Linked DNA regions of Homo sapiens: region 2 is linked to region 1. Evidence: promoter capture Hi-C in 16 types of primary human blood cells and fetal thymus (Javierre and others, 2016). All regions are on one chromosome and are shown on one strand. The core of a region is centred on a gene start or on the middle of the fragment in contact, and the rest is flanking DNA. Distances in the headings are between cores, read along the strand shown. Region 1 holds the start of FLJ46875 (a long non-coding RNA gene). Region 2 overlaps PKP4 (plakophilin 4).

Region 1 (5,575 bases), core at 2,154-4,653:
TATTTACAGACTGGCAGTTAAAAAAAATTCTTAAATGAAATACCATAAAACAGAGAAACAAGTTTCCAAATGCAACAACGTGGATTTTGCATTTGAAAAGCCAACAGGGCAAGTGCAATGGGGCACTATACTCTTTCCTGGTTGTTCCTCTCAGCCACACTCACTTGAATGAAGAGTTCTATGAGAGGCCTAATGCCTATCCATAGCTGTCCCATGTTACCCTGAGAAAAACAGACACCTGGCCAATCTTAAATATTTTAAATTTATTCGGGAGTAAAAATAAGAAAGCGGCTAGGATTACATCACAGTTAAAATTATTTGGCATGGGGAATATACCTAATTCAATAGTCATTCTTCATTCAGTTAGAATAAACATGCCCACTCAAGATAAAGGCTGAAAACCAGCAGGCAACCAGAAACACTGGTGAAATTTTTCTTGGACAACACAAACATATTTTCAAAAGTTTTCATATTCAGACTAATTCTCAGATTAGCAATATGGAGGGGCACTATTGAAAGGAGGAGGTGAAGTTGAGAACTCAAAAAATAGAAAGTGATTCCCTGTAGATAGTAACAATTCTAGTACTTTCTGACTGTAGGGTTTCCCTTGGCAGCCAGCCACCTCATTTAGAGTAACAATGGACATCCATCAAATCTTCATTTAAAATAAAAGTCATGCTGCAAGATACATATTTTATTTTTGTTGCCATATATATATACCAAAAATATACCTACTTATGTCTACAAAAGGGCCCAAGATTATTAATGAAATATATGTAAGCCTATAACTTGAGGAACAGCAAATCGTGCGGCTTGGGATTTTATTTACTAATGGACTTCAATTGTGAAATGAAGCACAGCAGGACTTTCGGCCTGGCTTTTGAAGAAGGAACACTTTAATAATCACTGGGCCTGACAAGACTGCAATATCTGTTCATGACAATAACAGCTTTATAAAGCAAGTTCTGTGTGACTGATTAAAGGACACACTCACCGCCTATTCACAAGTCATGGAGATGGAGTCATTATTGACAAGCTCACCATCACTACTGATCACATTTAAGACACATCGAGTGCTGGTGCTACAAAGAGAAATAAAACCTCAGCCATTAAAAGATTTAAAAAACAGCCCCAGAAGACAAGATTGCCATAACTTATGTATATCTTAATGTGTTCTGTATAAGATTTTCTCCTATATACACACACAAAGGATCTTATTTGATAATAATTATCAAAATTATCGAACTAAAGCACTAGGTAACAAATCAGCCACTACAAAGGAAAAAAAAAAGGAGAAGCATCGTCTTATAATTTCACAATAATTATGAAAGGACATGATATATAGACAAACTTTCAAAATGTTAACACTTTCCGAAACTTGACATGACTGAAAGTAAATACTTTTTCAGACTGTTCATGTCTATCTTAGGCATTCTGCTAGTCATTAGTTTACATGAATTAATGTTTACATAGTGCCAGAAGCAAAAAGTTTTAAAAGTATGTCTCTACCTTTCAGATATCCCTTAGTAGGTAAAAGTAAACATAAAGTTTAGAAATTCTAGTAAGTTATTTTACTTTTTGCCCTTAAAGTATTGTCTTCCCGTGTGATCTATCTGTATTAGTGAATAGAAAATAAAGGATACAGTAAGACAACCACGTTTATAATCTGAAATTAAAGGCAATCAATTAAAACATTTTATTAGTCACCAGGATATTTAAAAATGAGACCTGTGAAATATTGCAGAATCACTCCACTAGGAGAGAAGCAGCAACTTAAGTATGCTGTCACTGACATGTTGGGAGGAAAAAGCAAACTACCAGTACCACCATGTACATGATTCAAATTAAGCTACATAAATAGTGAGTGCATGGGGTTGTGGGTACAGAAACTGGTTCGCTGAGGAGGTGCTACTTACATTTCCTGTATTTCATATTTCTGAGAACTGTCTTCTGTAATTTCCAAAGTGTAGGAATGGTTGAAGTTTGAAAATAAATGGAGAATTTCAAATAGTTAATGAATAGATTTAGGAGCTATACTGAAACAACTAGCAGAAAATACATTTTCTGGAGTTCTTTAATTTTGTACGCTTAAAAGTATGGTGTTCCTAAAGATGGCTAATTCTTGTTGAAGTAAGTAGCTCTGGAAGTCATATTTTCCATTTCTCCATACTTCATCTATTAATCAGTTGACTGGCAATTTCCGACACCAGTTTTGCTAAACTTTATAAATTTTGCTTCCTCCAGAGGTAGGAGGGGGAAGGAGATGGGCAATACAGAAACAGATTTTACAGCCAGAATATGACAGGGCCCCTTAAACTACAAATAGATGTAGAATTTTAAATGTAGCTCTGTAGTTCAATTTATACCACAGAAATTGCGAGATGCTATCTTCCTGTTGTTATAACGTATCAGGTCAAGGGATATAAATTGTACCAGGTAATTCATTTTGCTGTTCAGAGAGTCATTAAGTTCCTCCCAGAATATATGTGATTGATATCCCTGGAGGTGAAAGGCTAAAGGAACCATATGGCAACATGTTGCATTCCGTATGCTATCTGCCCATCCGTGCTTAAGCTGTCATTAGCAACATCTGTACCTTACGGAAATCCAGCTGCGCCGACGACGGCTGACGGAATTGTACTTGGGGGGAAAATCTAGCTTAGCGCCATTAACTTGAGACTTAGAGTCTATCTACCAGGACGGATGGAAGCTTTCACAATTAGACGAGACGACACGAATGCTTTATTAAAGTTTAATTTTGAACTCCCAATTAGCGAAAGTGCATTACAAATCGATTGCAATTTCCTAGAAGGTGCAGCAAGTTCTCTGCCTGCCTGCCACGTGCGAGACGCTCCACAGCGAGCTTCCCCAGCTCCGGGCAGCAGAAAGGGGATGGTTCAGAGCCGATCTCCGCATCCCAGGAAGTCCCTAAAATCCGCGCCAGCCCCTCCTCCCGCAGGGCGGGGGCGTCCACGGCGCGAACCCGCCAGAGGTGTAGGGGGAAGTGTGGGGGGCTGGTCCGCAGCCTTCGAGGGGTGGGGCGACAGGAGCGAGCGGCCGGGGGAGGAGAAAAAGGCGGGCGGCGGGAGAGGGGGCCTCTATTATCTCGGCTTCTCGGGAGGAGCCTCATCTAGTCAGTCACGCAGAAGTTTCTCTTTCGCTCTTCGCGCTACACACCCAGATTGGCTTCCAGCGCGCAGGCGAGTGGGGCGAAGGAGGGGGGACAGGAGTCCCGGAAGGGCCGTCCGGCGTTCACACCCACCCCTGTTCCGCTCCTCCCGCCCCAAACAAAGTCCCCCGACTCTAGGTCCAGGATACGTTACCTGCCCGGCGCTCCCGGCCCCTCGGTCACCGCATCCCCCGCTGGGCGCGCCTGGTACGGGTCCCGCTCCCCGGGGCTCACAAAGTGGTCGCCCCTGGCTGGGCGGCTGGGTAGATGCCCCTCTCTGGACATGTTGGGGCGGTTTTTGGGGTGGAGGGAACGCGGGAAGTGAAAGCGGAGGCTGGGACAAGGGGAACTTACTGATAAAATGGAAAAAAAAAAAGCCCACAGGGCCCAGGTCCTGGCCGGGGGCGAAAGAGGCCTGTTACCTTTCGGGGGGTCGCGGCCGACCAAGAAGGGAGCCGGGGAGTCGCCCGCCCCCCTCCCCCGGCCCCCGGCCCCCGGCCCCCGGCGGCTGCGGCAGCTGCACACAGAAGCCCATTGTCGCCGGCGTCCGGCGCGCAGCCCCGCGGACTCGGCCCCGCGGCCAAGCGCGTCAGCGGCCCCGTCAGCCGGGCCGGGCTCCGTGACGCGCGCGCAGCCCGCGCTATAAATAACCTGCCGCCGGGCGGCTCGGGCGGCTTTCCAGTGACGCTGGGGCGGAGGCGCGGTAGGAGGAGGGCGAAAGGAAACAATAAAACCGCCCGGCAGCCTCCCAAGTCTCCCTCCTCCCTTCCCAGGCCGCCCGCGGCCCTTCGCGTCGAGCTCCTTTTTCCCCGCCCCGGCCCGCCCTGCGGGGAGCGCGGTTCGCGGGTGGGAAGGAGCCCGGCGTGCTGGCGTCCCCGAGTGCTGCCGGGGCCCCGGGGCGGGAGGGGGTTTTTCCCGCACCCTGGGATGGCGAGGAGGGAACTTGGCGACAAGTTTAGTGAGGGGATCGCTGTGTTCCTTTCTAGTCCAGTTAAAATGACCCGAGCTTTTCCCGCTCCCTCACACACCTATTCTAGTACAGGTCGGATGTGTTTTTGGGGTAGTAAGTCCTCAACCGAAAACAAAAGCGAAAAACCTGTCGTCTTCAACGTAAGCATTATCTAGGTTTTTGTGGGGCCAGGCTTGCATTAGTGTTTTCATTCGGGGGGTTGTATTATAGAAAGGGTGCCCCGTAGTAGCAGCGTGAGGAAGGGTTCCAGGACCCAGGCTGTCAGCTCCGGTGCATTTACAGGTCTTTTTGCCGTAGAATTTAGCATAGGCCTGAAACATGGCATAAATGAACTTTCTAAAAGTCTATAATCTCAACGTTAAAGAGCTTACTTTTTAACTCTGGACTTTAATAAAGGCTCCCACTTTAAAAGGGGCTTTCTCTATAGGAAAGTATTAATATTTTTGTGGAGACTCTCACTGCTACCTTCCATACTCAGGCAATTCTGTCACACACCCTGACACTTGTCCTACTCATTAAGGTACCCACATACAACTGGAGGTAATCTGTTTTCTTGGACCAACAATTAATAGACTATAAAACTGTATTTCGTCTTGAGCAAAATGTCTCAGCTATGAACATGTTTTCTGAGGTTCTGATATAGACATAGATAAAAATTTGCAGATGCAAGCAAGGTGTTGCAGTGACTTGGCATGGTTAGAGTGAGTTACTAGTGTTGGGGGAAATGGTTCTTAGTTCACTAGTGAGGCAAAGTGGTATAGTAGAAGGTTCTCTGAGCTGGGGTTTAGAAGATAAAGAAATTTGAGTTTTAATTATGTCTTCACTGTACTTTTCTGTGCCACCTTGCAGAAACCACGGCCTTTCTCTGCCGCACTTTCTTCATTAACATTAAGGACTGATAGTTCCTTTTCTACCCTTACATTCTAGGATGTTAAAGGATATTGTGTCCAGGGATAAAGTTTTATCAAATAAACATAAGCACCCAGTGTCTCATGGGAGACAGGTAACAAATGTAGATTAATTTGGTGTTCTGACATTTTAAAATTTTGTACATCTTAAAATATATTAGGGCCACTTCAGGAAAATAATGAATTAAAATATACCATTAAAACTATTTTAAGAGGAAAAACTAGTCACAGTCTGCCTCATTTACAGGACAGCAGACATATTTACAGTCTAATGATGTCACAGGCCCTTTCCAACACCACGTTTTCTCATGTGAGCAAATGGATTATGGGTAGCAAAATGCAATGAGATCACTTTCTCCAATTTTGCTCCCATTTCTGGTTTGTGTGGTTTTTAAAAGGAATGTTTCCGTTGAAAGACACTGAATTGTTTATCACTAAGTGGTGTTATTGAGACAAGGGAAAGTTTTCTGATTTATCAGTCAGAATATGCTTTATTCTTCTTTCTTCAGGTTGGTGAATCAGAAAACA
Region 2 (4,803 bases), core at 1,171-3,670, 2.1 Mb after region 1:
TCAGAAATTAGGAGATCTGCCATTAAACCTTATTACCTTGACAAACCATTTAATGTTTGGATGATAGCTTCCTCCTTTTAAAAATACAATTTGGATTATATTGATCTAAGTTATATTTTAGCTCAAGATTCCTGAAGTTCACAGTGGTTTTTAAAAATTTTTCTTAAGAAAAAAAAAAGAACAAAAAACTTTTCCAAGCTTGAATATACATAATCAGCCCTGTTTCCCCTTGTACCTCAAATCATGGCAACAAGGAAGTTGAATTTCTCTTTTGAGACTTTTGAACCTTCTTCACATTCATTTTTAATTGTTTTGTTTTAAAACAATATCATTTTGGGAAGTGAGGGGAAGGGATGAAGCACATGTTTTCAAAGTCTTGCTGTCTGCCTCTACCCTAGTCTGAGATTACATATGGTAGTTTTGGCCAGGGAAAGTGCTTGGGATTTCACCTTCATACTCAGTGAGGCTCATGAAGTGTCATTAAGGTAGTGAGGTGTCATGATTAGCAGCCTTACTGTCAGGGTCCAATTCTGGCACTGCAACTTGCTGGCTGTGTAACCTGGCAGATTGTATAATCTCTGTGGTCCTCGTTTTGCTCATCTGTAGGATGGAGTGATAAAAGTACCCACTTCATATGGTTGTTGGGGAGATTAAATGAATTAATACATGTAAAGTGCTTACAACAGGAGCTGGTTCAGAGCCAGCGCTTAATACATTGAAATAATTATTTTTACATTGTGGTGCTTTTATGATGGTTTCTGCAGCATTTACCAAATGCCAGGGAAATTATTGGCTTGCTTTCTGTGTGGGTTTTGTCAAAATGATTATGGATTTCAACAGGATATTTCAGAGAAGAAATAAACTGCTGAACAGAAACCATTGTGAGCTTGATAGTTTGCAGGACATTGTAGAAAAGAGAATCCAGCACAGTAATTAAGGGCCTTTTTAAGTAGGGAAGTTGTAGCTTCTTGCGGTAGGCAATACTTAGAGAGGCATTAACCACCGCTAGCCAACAAGTATAGGAGAATGTATACAATTATTGCGTTTGTAATCCCAGGTAGTAGTCATTTTATAAAATGTCTTTGCTAGTCAGTACATGAATAAAGCGTTAGAAAGTGTTCATCATTTAACACCATTTGCCCAAATGCAGCTTGTAAATTAACTCTTTAAGCTGGCTTTTCTGTCTGAAAGTGATCACAGTTGAAAAAAAAAAAAAAAAGGATATTTGAAATCAGCAGGAGACTCCCAAATCAAGAAAGGCTAGAAAAGAGGAAGGGGGTTTGGAATATACATGATATAAATCAACAGACAGTGGTTAAATAGATATCAAGAGGCTCTAGTTCTAGTCCTGGCTTTGCCACTATGCAGGTGTGTGTCCCATGAGCACATCATGTAACTCTCGTGGGCTTTAGTTTTCTTGTCTATAAAATGAGGGAGTTGGTCTAGATGCTCTCTAGAGTCCCTCTAGTACTTACATTTCGCAACTCTTAGAACATCAAGCCATTACATTTTTTCCTCAGCAAGAATATGCTGTCTTCCCAAGGATTTATGACAATTTACCCTCTGGGATAAGGAGGGAAAATTGAAGTTGTATACTTGAAATTCTCAGCTCCTGAAAATATGTGTCGCAGCCAGACAAACCTGTGACCCCTCTGTGGCTGAGTCAGTGGCTCCGTGTCTTGTGCGGTAGTGGTGAAGTGCTCCAGGAGTGAGGATCCCTGGGGCCCCTCGGGGCAGGAGCTGAGCAGTGAGCCTTTATGGAGCTGCACATCTGCAGTTTGTCACAGCCCTGACTTCTGGGACTTACTTGTCTACAACCAGTCCCCTGTGCACATTGGAGGCTTCACCTCTGATTGAGACTACATTTTTCAGAAGTTGGATAGAAACAAGAAAGGGGATTTAGCATGGTGGTTAGAAGGGACTAGTCTTGTTACAGTGAGAAAGATCCACTTCTTACTTGCTCAGATGGTTTGATTTGTCCTCAGAGAAGTTAAACAACTGACAGAGTTGCTCCTCTGAAAACATTTTGTATGAATACTTTAGGTTCATAGGGAACTCGTCAATCCATATCTCATAGAATAGAGGGACTTTTCATTCAAGTCTAATTTTTACATATAGACAATCTACCAGTGTTCAGAAATTGTGGCAGATTTCATGAGGAGAATTTTTTACTTGGATTTGTGCTCTTCTATAAAAAGTAATTTAAAAATTCAGTGATGAAAGTTTCTCCTAGACCCTGTTCTCTTCCTTTGTGGAGAAAAAAAATCCGTATAGAACTCTAGTATGTATTTATCTATAAAACAATTGTTTAAAAATATTGAGGTTAGCTCTTCCCCTTTGCTAATGCAATAAGCACATTATTTGCAAAGGGAAGCATTAATTATACTACTATTGTATGCAGTATTAAATGAATTGTCAATGTCACGATCAAAATAAACCCTTGAAGAACTGGCTGTTGTTCCCATACCTTCATGAGAATTGTAAACACTCATGTAAAATAGAAACCATTATTTACCACTTTGCAGTGAAATGGATCATGTGTTCTGACACCTGTACCCTGAGTTGAGTGGGAAACAGGGACTGTTTGATGAATTAAAGGTAACTTTATTCCTGTATACCACTAGGGGTGCAAGTGAGGGGACTGTAGACAATTAGTACTTTAGATATTTGTTGGAGTCCTGCTGTGTGTGCAGTATTGTGTTTCATTTTGCATACTTATTTAAAACGATACTACTTATTTGAAATGATTCATTTTAGTTCATTTTAACCAACATTTTTTAGTCCCCTACTCCATATCAGACTGATAGGCCTTATGGCCAAAAAGATGACTTCCTCCAGGGATACTTACTGTCTGTGTTAGATTCAGTAATGGGAGTCTCGGTCTTTAAGGAATCCATGATACATTTTTCAGTCTGGTTGGGAAAGATAAGACACATGAGGTAGAGAAGATTGTCCTAGAAATGTTGGTATATAAATAAGCATGTAACATTGTTTCATAAGTATTAAGGATGAGCTATAAAATAACTAGGTTGTAGCTCATACTTCTACTTGCTTAATTGTGTATTACATGATAAATTACCCGATTCTAGAGATATGCACTAACCACTCTCATTAGCTTTCTTTGGGAAAAGTCTGCACCAAAGATAAATAGTGATTTCAAAATAAGTTTTAATCATGAACTTGATTATTTTGGCTGTATCTCTTGAAACACTTTACCATATAGCCTATGTGAAATAATTAATCATAATGACAATACATGATTTATGAGAAACCATAATTTATGCTGTAAGACCTGCCATTTTATTACATTCTTATTTTTATTTTTCATGCAGCAGTATTTTCGTTTATTGTGTTTTGTGCTTTTCTTTTATTCTCTATGTAATTTGTGTGCCTTTATAAGCCCAAACTTGCTGTTGAAAATATTCCCTCCCATTGTTATGAATAAACAGAATGTTTCAAAATCTCTCGTGATGTATGCTAGAATAAATGGTCTCATTGAATCTTACTTTGAATCTCAGAATGATGCACTGATGGGAATTTTTCACTTACTGTCATTTTGTCGACAACTACATAAGCAGTAAGTCTGTTTAAAAAAGGCACTGACTAAGGAATCACAAAATCCAACTGGACTTCACAAGAACTATTAATACTATTAGTCTGAGACCTGTGATAAACAACTCAGATGTTAAAGGTCTAATTCAGACTGTCAACAGATGAAAAATAAGTGTCAGTCTGAAATCTTCGGATAGTATATCGGCAAGTGTCAGTCTTCCAAAATATTATTTAGAACTGTGAATATAATTTTTCACAGAAGCAACATTAATCCATAAATCTCCCGTCCTGTAGTGTAACTATAGTATATCAGTTCCATGGGAAAATAGTCCTGCTCTAAGCTACTCAACAGCAGGGACTTTATCTTTCTACAGGACTTAAATCTTGACCTCCAGTGGTTCTACATACCTTAAGTGAATGAATGAGTTTGAATTCTAGTTTTGAACACCTTCACCTGCTACTCTTGGATAATCGTGTCTGTTTGTGCCTAGTACCTATCCTCTGTCCTTTTGTAAACTGGTCTGAGACCCTGATACCATTTATCCTGCATGTTTCAAAGGAAAAAACTATTTAGACTTTAAAAAAATGCTTTTCTAATACAACTTGCTAGATAAATAATTCATTATACCAAATTCCTTAGTAAAGAAATTAACGGCTGGGTGCAGTGGCTCACACCTGTAATCCCAGCACTTTGGGAGGCTGAGGCAGGTGGATCACTTGAGATTAGGAGTTCAAGACCAGCCTGGACAACATGGTGAAACCCCATCTCTACTAAAAATACAAAAAAAAAAAAATTAGCCAGGCGTGGTGGCGGGCGCCTGTAGTCCCAGCTACTTGGGAGGCTGAGGTGAGAGAATCACGTGAACCCGTGAGGCAGAGGTTGCAGTGGGCAGAGATTGCACCACTGCACTCCAGCCTGGGTGACAGAGCGAAACTCCATTTCAAAAAGAAATTAATTAGAAGATTTTAAACAGATTGGTTCATATTCATTTTAAACTTAATTGCCTGGATTATAACCATAGTGAGATGAGTTTTCATAATGCTCTTTATCATACTACTAATAGGCACCAATCAAGCACCAAGACTAAGCTAAGCTTTGAAAGTGTGATATTGAGCAAACTTTCTGTATCTGTACCTTTTGTGAATCAGTAATATCTTTGTATACTCAGTTGAAGAGTTAAGACAGAAGTAGATATAATTTAAAGCACATGAAGTTTTTCAAAGGGGAAATGTTACAAAAATGCTAAGGGT

The links. Contacts are between HindIII fragments. The CHiCAGO score rates a contact against its expected background, and 5 or more counts as called.
Region 2: a contact is called between a fragment that was not itself captured here and the fragment with the promoter of FLJ46875 in region 1, in 1 of 17 cell types (activated CD4 T cells). The highest score is 5.5, in activated CD4 T cells.

Annotation. Positions count from the first base shown.
Region 1 is chr2:156,338,717-156,344,291 of GRCh38, forward strand. It overlaps FLJ46875 (a long non-coding RNA gene), which reads right to left and starts at 3,404. Exons shown (of 1, transcript NR_147695.1): 1 at 1-3,404. RefSeq lists enhancers at 2,309-2,864, 2,865-3,418, 4,626-4,685 and silencers at 2,966-3,065, 3,606-4,215. The HindIII fragment of the contact is 3,407 bases long and covers 2,709-5,575 here.
Region 2 is chr2:158,462,210-158,467,012 of GRCh38, forward strand. The region is part of intron 1 of PKP4 (plakophilin 4); the gene reads left to right. Among named protein-coding and RNA genes, the nearest start is that of PKP4, 7.7 kb to the left of the region's middle. The HindIII fragment of the contact is 4,448 bases long and covers 197-4,644 here.